2 separate regions of the Homo sapiens genome follow, and region 1 is linked to region 2. The links are contacts of gene promoters, found by promoter capture Hi-C in blood cells and fetal thymus (Javierre and others, 2016). All regions are on one chromosome and are shown on one strand. The core of a region is centred on a gene start or on the middle of the fragment in contact, and the rest is flanking DNA. Distances in the headings are between cores, read along the strand shown. Region 1 overlaps AP4E1 (adaptor related protein complex 4 subunit epsilon 1). Region 2 holds the start of GLDN (gliomedin).

Region 1 (3,785 bases), core at 864-3,363, 370 kb before region 2:
GAATAGTGCTGCAGTGAACATGGGAATGCTAATATCTCTTTTGGATCCTGATTTCAATTATTTGGGATAAATACCCACCCGGAAGTGAGATTGTTGGAGCATATAGTAGTTGTATTTTTATTTATTTAGAGACAGAATCTTGCTCTGTCGCCTAGGCTGGAGTGCAGTGGTACGATCTCAGCTCACTGCAACCTCTGCCTCCTGGGTTCAAGTGATTCTCCTGCCTCAGCCTCCTGGGTAGCTGGGACTACAAGCATGAGTCACCACACCTGGCTAATTGTTGTATTTTTAGTAGAGACAGGGTTTTGCCATGTTGGCCAGGCTGGTCTCAAACTCCTGACTTCAAGTGATCCACCTGTCTTGGCTTCCCAAAGTGCTGGGATTACAGGTATGAGCCACTGTGCCCGGCCATTTTTTTTTTTTTTTTTTGAGACAGTGTCTCATTCTGTCACCTAGGCTGGAGTGCAGTAGAACGATCATAGTTCACTGTAGCCTTGAACTCCTGGGCTCAAGTGATCCTACTGCCTCAGCTTCCTGAGTATCTAGGATTCCAGGTGCATGCCATCATGCCTGGTTCATTTTTAATTTTTTGTAGAGACAGAGTCTCCCTAATGTTGCCCAGACTGGTCTCAAACTCTTGAGCTCAAGTGATCCTCCTACCTTGACGTTGCAAAGCACTGGGATTATAGGCATGAGCCACTGTGTACTGCCTGTATTTTTATTTTTTTGAGGAACCTCCATACTGCTTTCCACAGTGGTTGCACCATTTTGCATTCCCATCAACAATGGGTAAGGGTTCTGACTTCTTCACATCCTTCCTGACACGTTATGTTTTCTTTTCTTTGATAATCACCATCCTGACTGGTACAAGGTGATGCCTTATTATGGTTTCAGTTTGTATTTTCTTGCTAATAGTAACCTTGAGCATTTTTTCATATACCTGTTGGCCATGTGTATGTCTTCTTTAGAGAAATGTTTATTTAAGTTATTGGCCTATTTGTGATCAGGTTATTAGTTAAAAAAAAAAAACTATTGAGTCATAGGATTAACATATTTTGGAGGTTAACCCTTACCAGAAATGTGGTTTGCAAATATTTTCTCCTATTCCATAGGTTGCCTTTTCACTCTGTTGAGTGTTTTCTTTGCTATGCAGAAGCTTTTTAATTTGATGTATTGCCACTTGTTTATTTTTGTTATTATTACCTGTATTTTTGGTGTCATATCCATGAAATTATTGTAAAGACCAATGTCATAAAGCAGCTTTTACCAGCTGGGCGCGGTGGCTCACACCTGTAATCCCAGTACTTTAGGAGGCTGAGGTGGGTGGACCACCTGAGGTCGGGAGTTCGAGACCAGCCAGACCAACATGGAGATACCTCATCTCTACTGAAAATACAAAATTAGCCAGGCGTGGTGGTGCATGCTTGTAATGCCAGCTACTTGAGAGGCTGAGGCAGGAGAATCACTTGAACCCGGGAGGTGGAGGTTGCAGTGAGCTGAGATTGTACCATTGCACTCCAGCCTGAGCAACAAGAGCAAAACTTCATCTCTTTCTATGAGTTTTACAGTTTTGGGTCTTACAGTTAAGTCCTTAGTTCATTTTGAGTTGATTTTTATGTATGGTATAAGATAAAGCTTCCATTTTATTCTTTTGCATGTGAATATTTGGTTTTCCCAATGTTGTTTGTTGAGAAGACTGTCCTTTCTCTGTTGTGTATTCTTGGTGTCCTTGTTCAATATTAGTTGACTATACATGCTTGGATTTATTTCTGGGCTCTCTGTTCTGTCTCTATGTCTGTCTTTATGCCAGTACTATGCTGTTTTGATTATTGTAGATTTGTAATATATTTTGAAATCAGTAAGTGTGATGCCTTCAGCTTTGCTCTTTTTTCTCAAGATTAATTTGGGTATTCATGGTCTTTTGTGGTTCTTCATTGGTGAATTCTACCAAACACTTAATGAATTAATATTGGGGCTGGGCACAGTGGCTCATGCCTGTAGTCCTAGCAATTTGGGAGGCCATGGTGGGAGGATCACTTGAAGCCAGGAGTTTGATACCAGCCTAGACAATATAGCTTGACCCCATCTCTACAAAAGGGACAGAGAGAGAGAGAGAGAGAGAGAGAAAGAGAGAGAGAGTTCTTTTCAACCTCTTCCAAAAATTTAAAGAGGAGAGAACATTTCTAAACTTATTTTATGAGACCAGCCTTACCCTGATAGCAAAGCCAGACAGAGCCACCACAAAAAAAAGAAAACTACAGGCCAATATCCCTGATGAATATAGGCAAAATACTAGGAAACTGAACTCAATAAAAGGATCATACACCATGATCAAGTGGGATTTATCCTAGGGATCCAAGGATGGTTCAACATCTGAAAATAAATTAATGTGATATCATGTTAACAGAATAAAGGATAAAAACCACACAGTTCTCAATAAAAGCAGAAAAAGTGTTTGACAAAATTGAATACCCTTTCATGATTAAAAAGAAACTCAATAAAACTAAGAATAGAAGGCAATATCTCAATATAATAAAGACCATATATGATAAACCCAGAGCTAACATCATAGCATGGTATGATGAAAAACCAAAAGCTTTTCCTCTGAGATCAGGAGCAAAGCAAGGATGCCCACTTGTCTCTTTTGTAGTCAACACAGTACTGGAAGTATTAGCCAGAGCAGTTAAGAAAAAGAAGAGAGGTATTCAGATTGGAAAGGAAAATTGTTCCTCTTTGCAGATAATATGGTTTTATTTATAGAAAACCCTAAATTAGACTCCATTAAAAAACCGTTAGAAGTAATAAGCGAATTCTGGAAAGTTGTAGGATGCAAAGTCAACATGCAAAAATTATTTGCATTTTTGTACACTAACAACAAACCATGTGACAAGGTTATTAGGAAGACAGCCCAATTTATGATAGCACCAAAAGGAACAAAATACCTAATAATAAACTGAAGCAAGTGAGAAAGTTGTGTTTAATGAAAACCACTGAACGTTAATGAAAGAAATCAAACAAGGCACAAATAAATGGAAATACATCCTGTGTTCATGGATTGGAAAGTACATGTATTCTGTGCAATCCCTTTCTTTTAAGGCTTTTTATATGTTATTTAGCACAGTGATAACTAATGTACTATAAAATTTAAACTCTCTTTCAAAGTGTAATCAGTTTCCTCTCATTAACTTTTTATATATTAATAGAATATATTGGGGGAAAAAGTAAACTTTTGAATTATAATTGCCTAACCTGTGGTTATACTGCATATAAATGCCTTATGACATCCAGGGCCTAGAGTGAAAAGCTCCTGGGTTTCCACAGTGGGAGGTATGATTCCGTTGTCATACTTCCTTATTTTCAGGTATCTGGGGGCCACCAGTTGCCATTACTGAAGTCAAGGGTTGGATAGGGAAGGGGAGATATAATAGGGAGACTATTTCCTGGCACTGCCTATTTTGTTTCTTAAAATAAGCTAAATAGCTGACACAAATACAAGAGCCCTGGAATTCCCCAAGCTTATGCAGTCCTTTGCCAAGTACATTTTTTCCCATAGAACCACATTATAAATGGGATTAAACGCTCAAACTAGATTCTCCCTCTCTCCTCCCAAATCTGTGTGCTTCAAAAGTCCTTTAAAGCAAAACTGAAATTTCAGGAGACTGTTATAGAAAAGGAAATTGGTTATGAGACAAGATATAGCAAGTATTTAATAAATACTTGTGGAATAAATTATAAAATTATATATCTTAGAAATGGGGTTGGCTATAAGACAAAATAAAGAGTAG
Region 2 (3,911 bases), core at 1-2,500:
GCTCATTGGCGGGGAGGCACCTCTTCCTTGAGTTATTGGGCTATGGAAACAGCAATCCTGCCTTCTGGTTGGGTCTCCCAAATGGGAGACATCCAAACAGAGTGATTTTTTTTTTTTCTTAAACAATGTCAAACCCGAGGTTCTTAACATGGGGCTTGAAGATTGCTGTCTACGTTAGTTTCCCATAGGTCCTGGGGCCCCAGGGAAGCAGAGCCATTCTAGGAGAAGCTGAGAAAGATCTTGAGTGAAGAGGTTCTCTGAGGAGACTCAAAAGTGACTCTGCATTTGGTTGACAGTGACCCTCGAGGCAGAGCAGGTATTGGGCAACATAAAAGTTGTGAGGAGTAAATGAGAGGCATGGGAAAACATGTTTTCCTAGGGCTAGGTAAGAACCCAACCATGGCCCAGCTCTCCAACCCTTAGGCCAGAAAGCACCTCCTCATGGTCTTGGGACATGCTCAAAGCCTCCCAGCTGAGTAGCAACAGAGTGGCTTTAGAACTAGGTCTCCTGATTCCTGGGGTTTTTTTCCTCACCATCCTGCCATTTTCCAGATATGGATCTCATCGGAGAGTTCCTGACTTGTCAAATCCTGGAACTCTCCTTTCAAGGACGAGTCCTGTTGGCCAGGCAGTCCTGGGCTTTTCTGGTTCTGATGGGTGGCCTTTTTTGCCTTCCAGTGCCAAGTGTCTCCTTGCCCCTATCCATCCCCTTCCTGGGAAAGATCATCTGGGGTCTTCAGTGGCCTCGTGGAGCCTCATGGCCATGGTGGGGAGTGATGCGCAGCCTGGTGCTCGGGCCAGGACCAGACCTCCCATGGACAGTGGGCACGTGCCTTAGCATCTGGGCATGCTGATCTTTTTCTCCAAGAGGGCAGTGTGGGGGTAGAAGGGGGTGGAATCCGGAGACTTCTCTCCATAAGAATTCCTGCTCTCCCCCTCAGTCTGACCCTTGCTTTGCCTGTCTGGGCCACGGCAATGCCCTCAGGCAGAGCAGTGGGAAGAGGAGGAGAGGGTTTGCTCAGCTGGCGGGACTCTGGGAGCACGAGCCCTGCCAGCCCCTCCTCCGCAGGCTGCCTCCACTGGCTCCTCTCCTGCTTCTGCCCGCCTGTCCCTCTGGGCTGCTCGGGCGCCACCACTACTGTCCCCATCCCGCCCCGCCAGCTGGGCCAAAGGGTGACTTGACTCACGACGCTGCCACCAGCCCACGGCTTGCCCGAGGCGTATAAAGGCTGCCAGGGCCGCAGGCTGCCAAGCCCTGCCCTGCCCAAGGCGCATAGAGCATGGCCCGAGGCGCTGAGGGAGGCCGTGGGGACGCGGGTTGGGGCCTGCGTGGCGCCCTGGCGGCCGTGGCGCTGCTCTCGGCGCTCAACGCTGCGGGCACGGTGTTCGCGCTGTGCCAGTGGCGCGGGCTGAGCTCGGCGCTGCGGGCTTTGGAGGCGCAGCGGGGCCGGGAGCAGCGCGAGGACAGTGCCCTGCGCTCCTTCCTGGCCGAGTTGAGCCGCGCGCCGCGCGGGGCGTCCGCACCACCCCAAGACCCGGCCAGCTCAGCTCGCAACAAGCGCAGCCACAGCGGCGAGCCCGCGCCGCATATCCGCGCCGAGAGCCATGACATGCTGATGATGATGACCTACTCCATGGTGCCGGTAGGCGGGGTCTCTGTTCCCCGTGGCGCCCCGGCCAGGTGGGCGGCTGGGGGTGTGGGGCGAGGACGCCGACGCCCTCTTCTCCCCTGGCCAGGCTGCGAGGTGCTGCGGAGAGGGCTGTGGGCATGAGTAGCTGGGGATGTCACCTTGGCAAGCACCTCAACCCACTGGAGTCTGTTTTCTCATCTGTGAGGTTGGGGACAGGGTGAAGGAGGGAGTCTCTTCTACCTCTGACATTCTTTGAGTCCACATGTAAACGAAGGGCGAAGGCAGTGTTTCTAAGAGCCTATTTTCCTTCTCAGCTTAGACAAGTTTTCGTCTCCTGGTGTGAATGGAGCCGCAGCAGCCTTGGGGCTCCGCCTGTGCCACTGACCTGTGGGTGGGGCCCTCTGAGAGGATGGAGGCGCGTTTCTGAAAGAGCGTAGGCTTTTTCAATAAAGGGATTCTTTCCCTGGCATCAACTAGTGGTCTGGCTTTTCACCTGGCATCGCCTCATTCCTGCGAGATGGCCGGCCTAATTGTTTCCGTTTAAGTGAAAACAGCCCTAGTTTTACTGCCCACCTGGGACCTAGATGCTGGGAAAGTTGCCCCTGGATCTCAAGCAATTCCAAATGAGGGACGTCAATATGGTGCAATTTTTTTCTTAAAATGCAGTGTCAAAGCTGAGGTTCTTAACATGGGACCTGCGGATTGGTCTCCCCACTGGGCTCCAGGGAGTACACGGAACTGCAGAAATTGCCAAGTGTGTGTGCCTGTGCCCTCCTGCCCATGTGGATGAGGGTCTGCAGCTTTTCACTAGATCTTCAAGGGGTCCCCCATTGCATGCCTCCCCCAAAAGGTTTAAGAAACACTGCTCTGAAGAAAGTCTTCAAAGCCTCAAAGATTTGTTTTCCAGTGTTAAGTTTCTTTGCTTTTGCCGCTTTTAATTCAATAGGTATTTAACAAATACTATTAGATCACATTGCAGTTCCCCATTCCATTTCATTATTTATTACAATTGCAACAGTCTTGTTTCACTTTATAATTAGAAAGATTTCGGCTATTACCTCCAGTCAAGTGTGAGCCATACTTCAGAATCCTAGGTATTTGAAAATAAATTGACTTAAACTTCCGTTATCACAGAAGCTTTTAAATAACTTACATGAGCTGAAATGCTTTTAAAACTACGTAAAAGTACTACATACTTCAAATACATCTTTTGAGAGAGATCAAGTTTTCCATTCCTCACTTCATTTGTTTTTTAAATTCATGTTATCATTTAAAAATCTGGACCTAAGCAGAAGTTTCAAAAAAGGACTGCTATAAGATGAAAAAAACCTCCTTAGGGGAATTCATTCTCGCCCTTTCAGCTCTCTACCCTACATTTTAAGGCTTTTAAAAAATCCTCAAAAAGGGATACATCTGAGCATCATTGTTTTACATTTTTAATCCTGCTTTTAAGGTAGAAGCTTTCGTATCCGAATTGCAACCTATTCCGTCACTAACAAATTGAATGGAGACACTCATCTCTGTGTCAAATTAACTCTAGGTGACCTCGCAGTGCTACCACTAACTCTGTTACAGGTCAGAGAGCAGAACTATCACATGTGTCAGACTGGATATTATTAGTAGATTATCATCAACTAACTCATCCCCCACCTGCAATGGGTATGTTTTGACCTTTTAGAGTCATGAGGGCCTGTCCCTGAGGCTAGGAGAAGGCAATCATCTTACTACTCACTTTCCTCTTGGGAGCAGTTCTCAAACAGTAGGCTTAGGAATCAGCTGGAAGCATATTACAGTGCAGATTCCAGGGCCTCTCCCTCAGACCTATAGAATCCTCTCCAGAATCTGCTTTATTAGAAGTCCTCTGACCCTCATCCCCCCACCTCCTATGCCATTGGTGAGTTCGGTGCAGATGGTCCAGGCACCACACTTTAAGAAATACTACTCAGTCTCTAACACTGAGTCTTTATTGTGCACAGGAATATCTTGGGGATCTTGTTAATATGCAGATTCTGATTCAGATGGTCTAAGCTGGGGCCTAAGATTCTGCGTTTCTACCAAGCTCCCACTGCTACCAATGCTACTGGCCTGAAGACCACATTTTGAGTAGTAAGGTTGCCTACTGGAACTATTTGGGGAGCTTTCAAACTTACTGATGCCTGAATCCCATCCCCAGAGATTCTGAATTAATTTGTTAGGCCACAGCCTGGGGATGGAGTGCTTATTCTCCAGCAGGAAGGACCTTGGCATAACTTCCTATCGATAGTAGCTGTGTTAGGCATC

The links. The method cuts DNA at HindIII sites, captures the fragments that hold promoters and counts their contacts. A CHiCAGO score of 5 or more calls a contact.
Region 1: a contact is called between a fragment that was not itself captured here and the fragment with the promoter of GLDN in region 2, in 1 of 17 cell types (M1 macrophages). The highest score is 6.5, in M1 macrophages.

Annotation. Positions count from the first base shown.
Region 1 is chr15:50,973,856-50,977,640 of GRCh38, forward strand. All of the region lies in intron 15 of AP4E1 (adaptor related protein complex 4 subunit epsilon 1), which reads left to right. Among named protein-coding and RNA genes, the nearest start is that of MIR4713HG, 62 kb to the right of the region's middle. The HindIII fragment of the contact is 961 bases long and covers 1,634-2,594 here.
Region 2 is chr15:51,340,405-51,344,315 of GRCh38, forward strand. GLDN (gliomedin) reads left to right here and starts at 1,251. Exons shown (of 10, transcript NM_181789.4): 1 at 1,251-1,643. The coding sequence starts at 1,281. RefSeq lists an enhancer at 239-602 and cis regulatory regions at 292-335, 408-432. The HindIII fragment of the contact is 3,655 bases long and covers 1-2,766 here.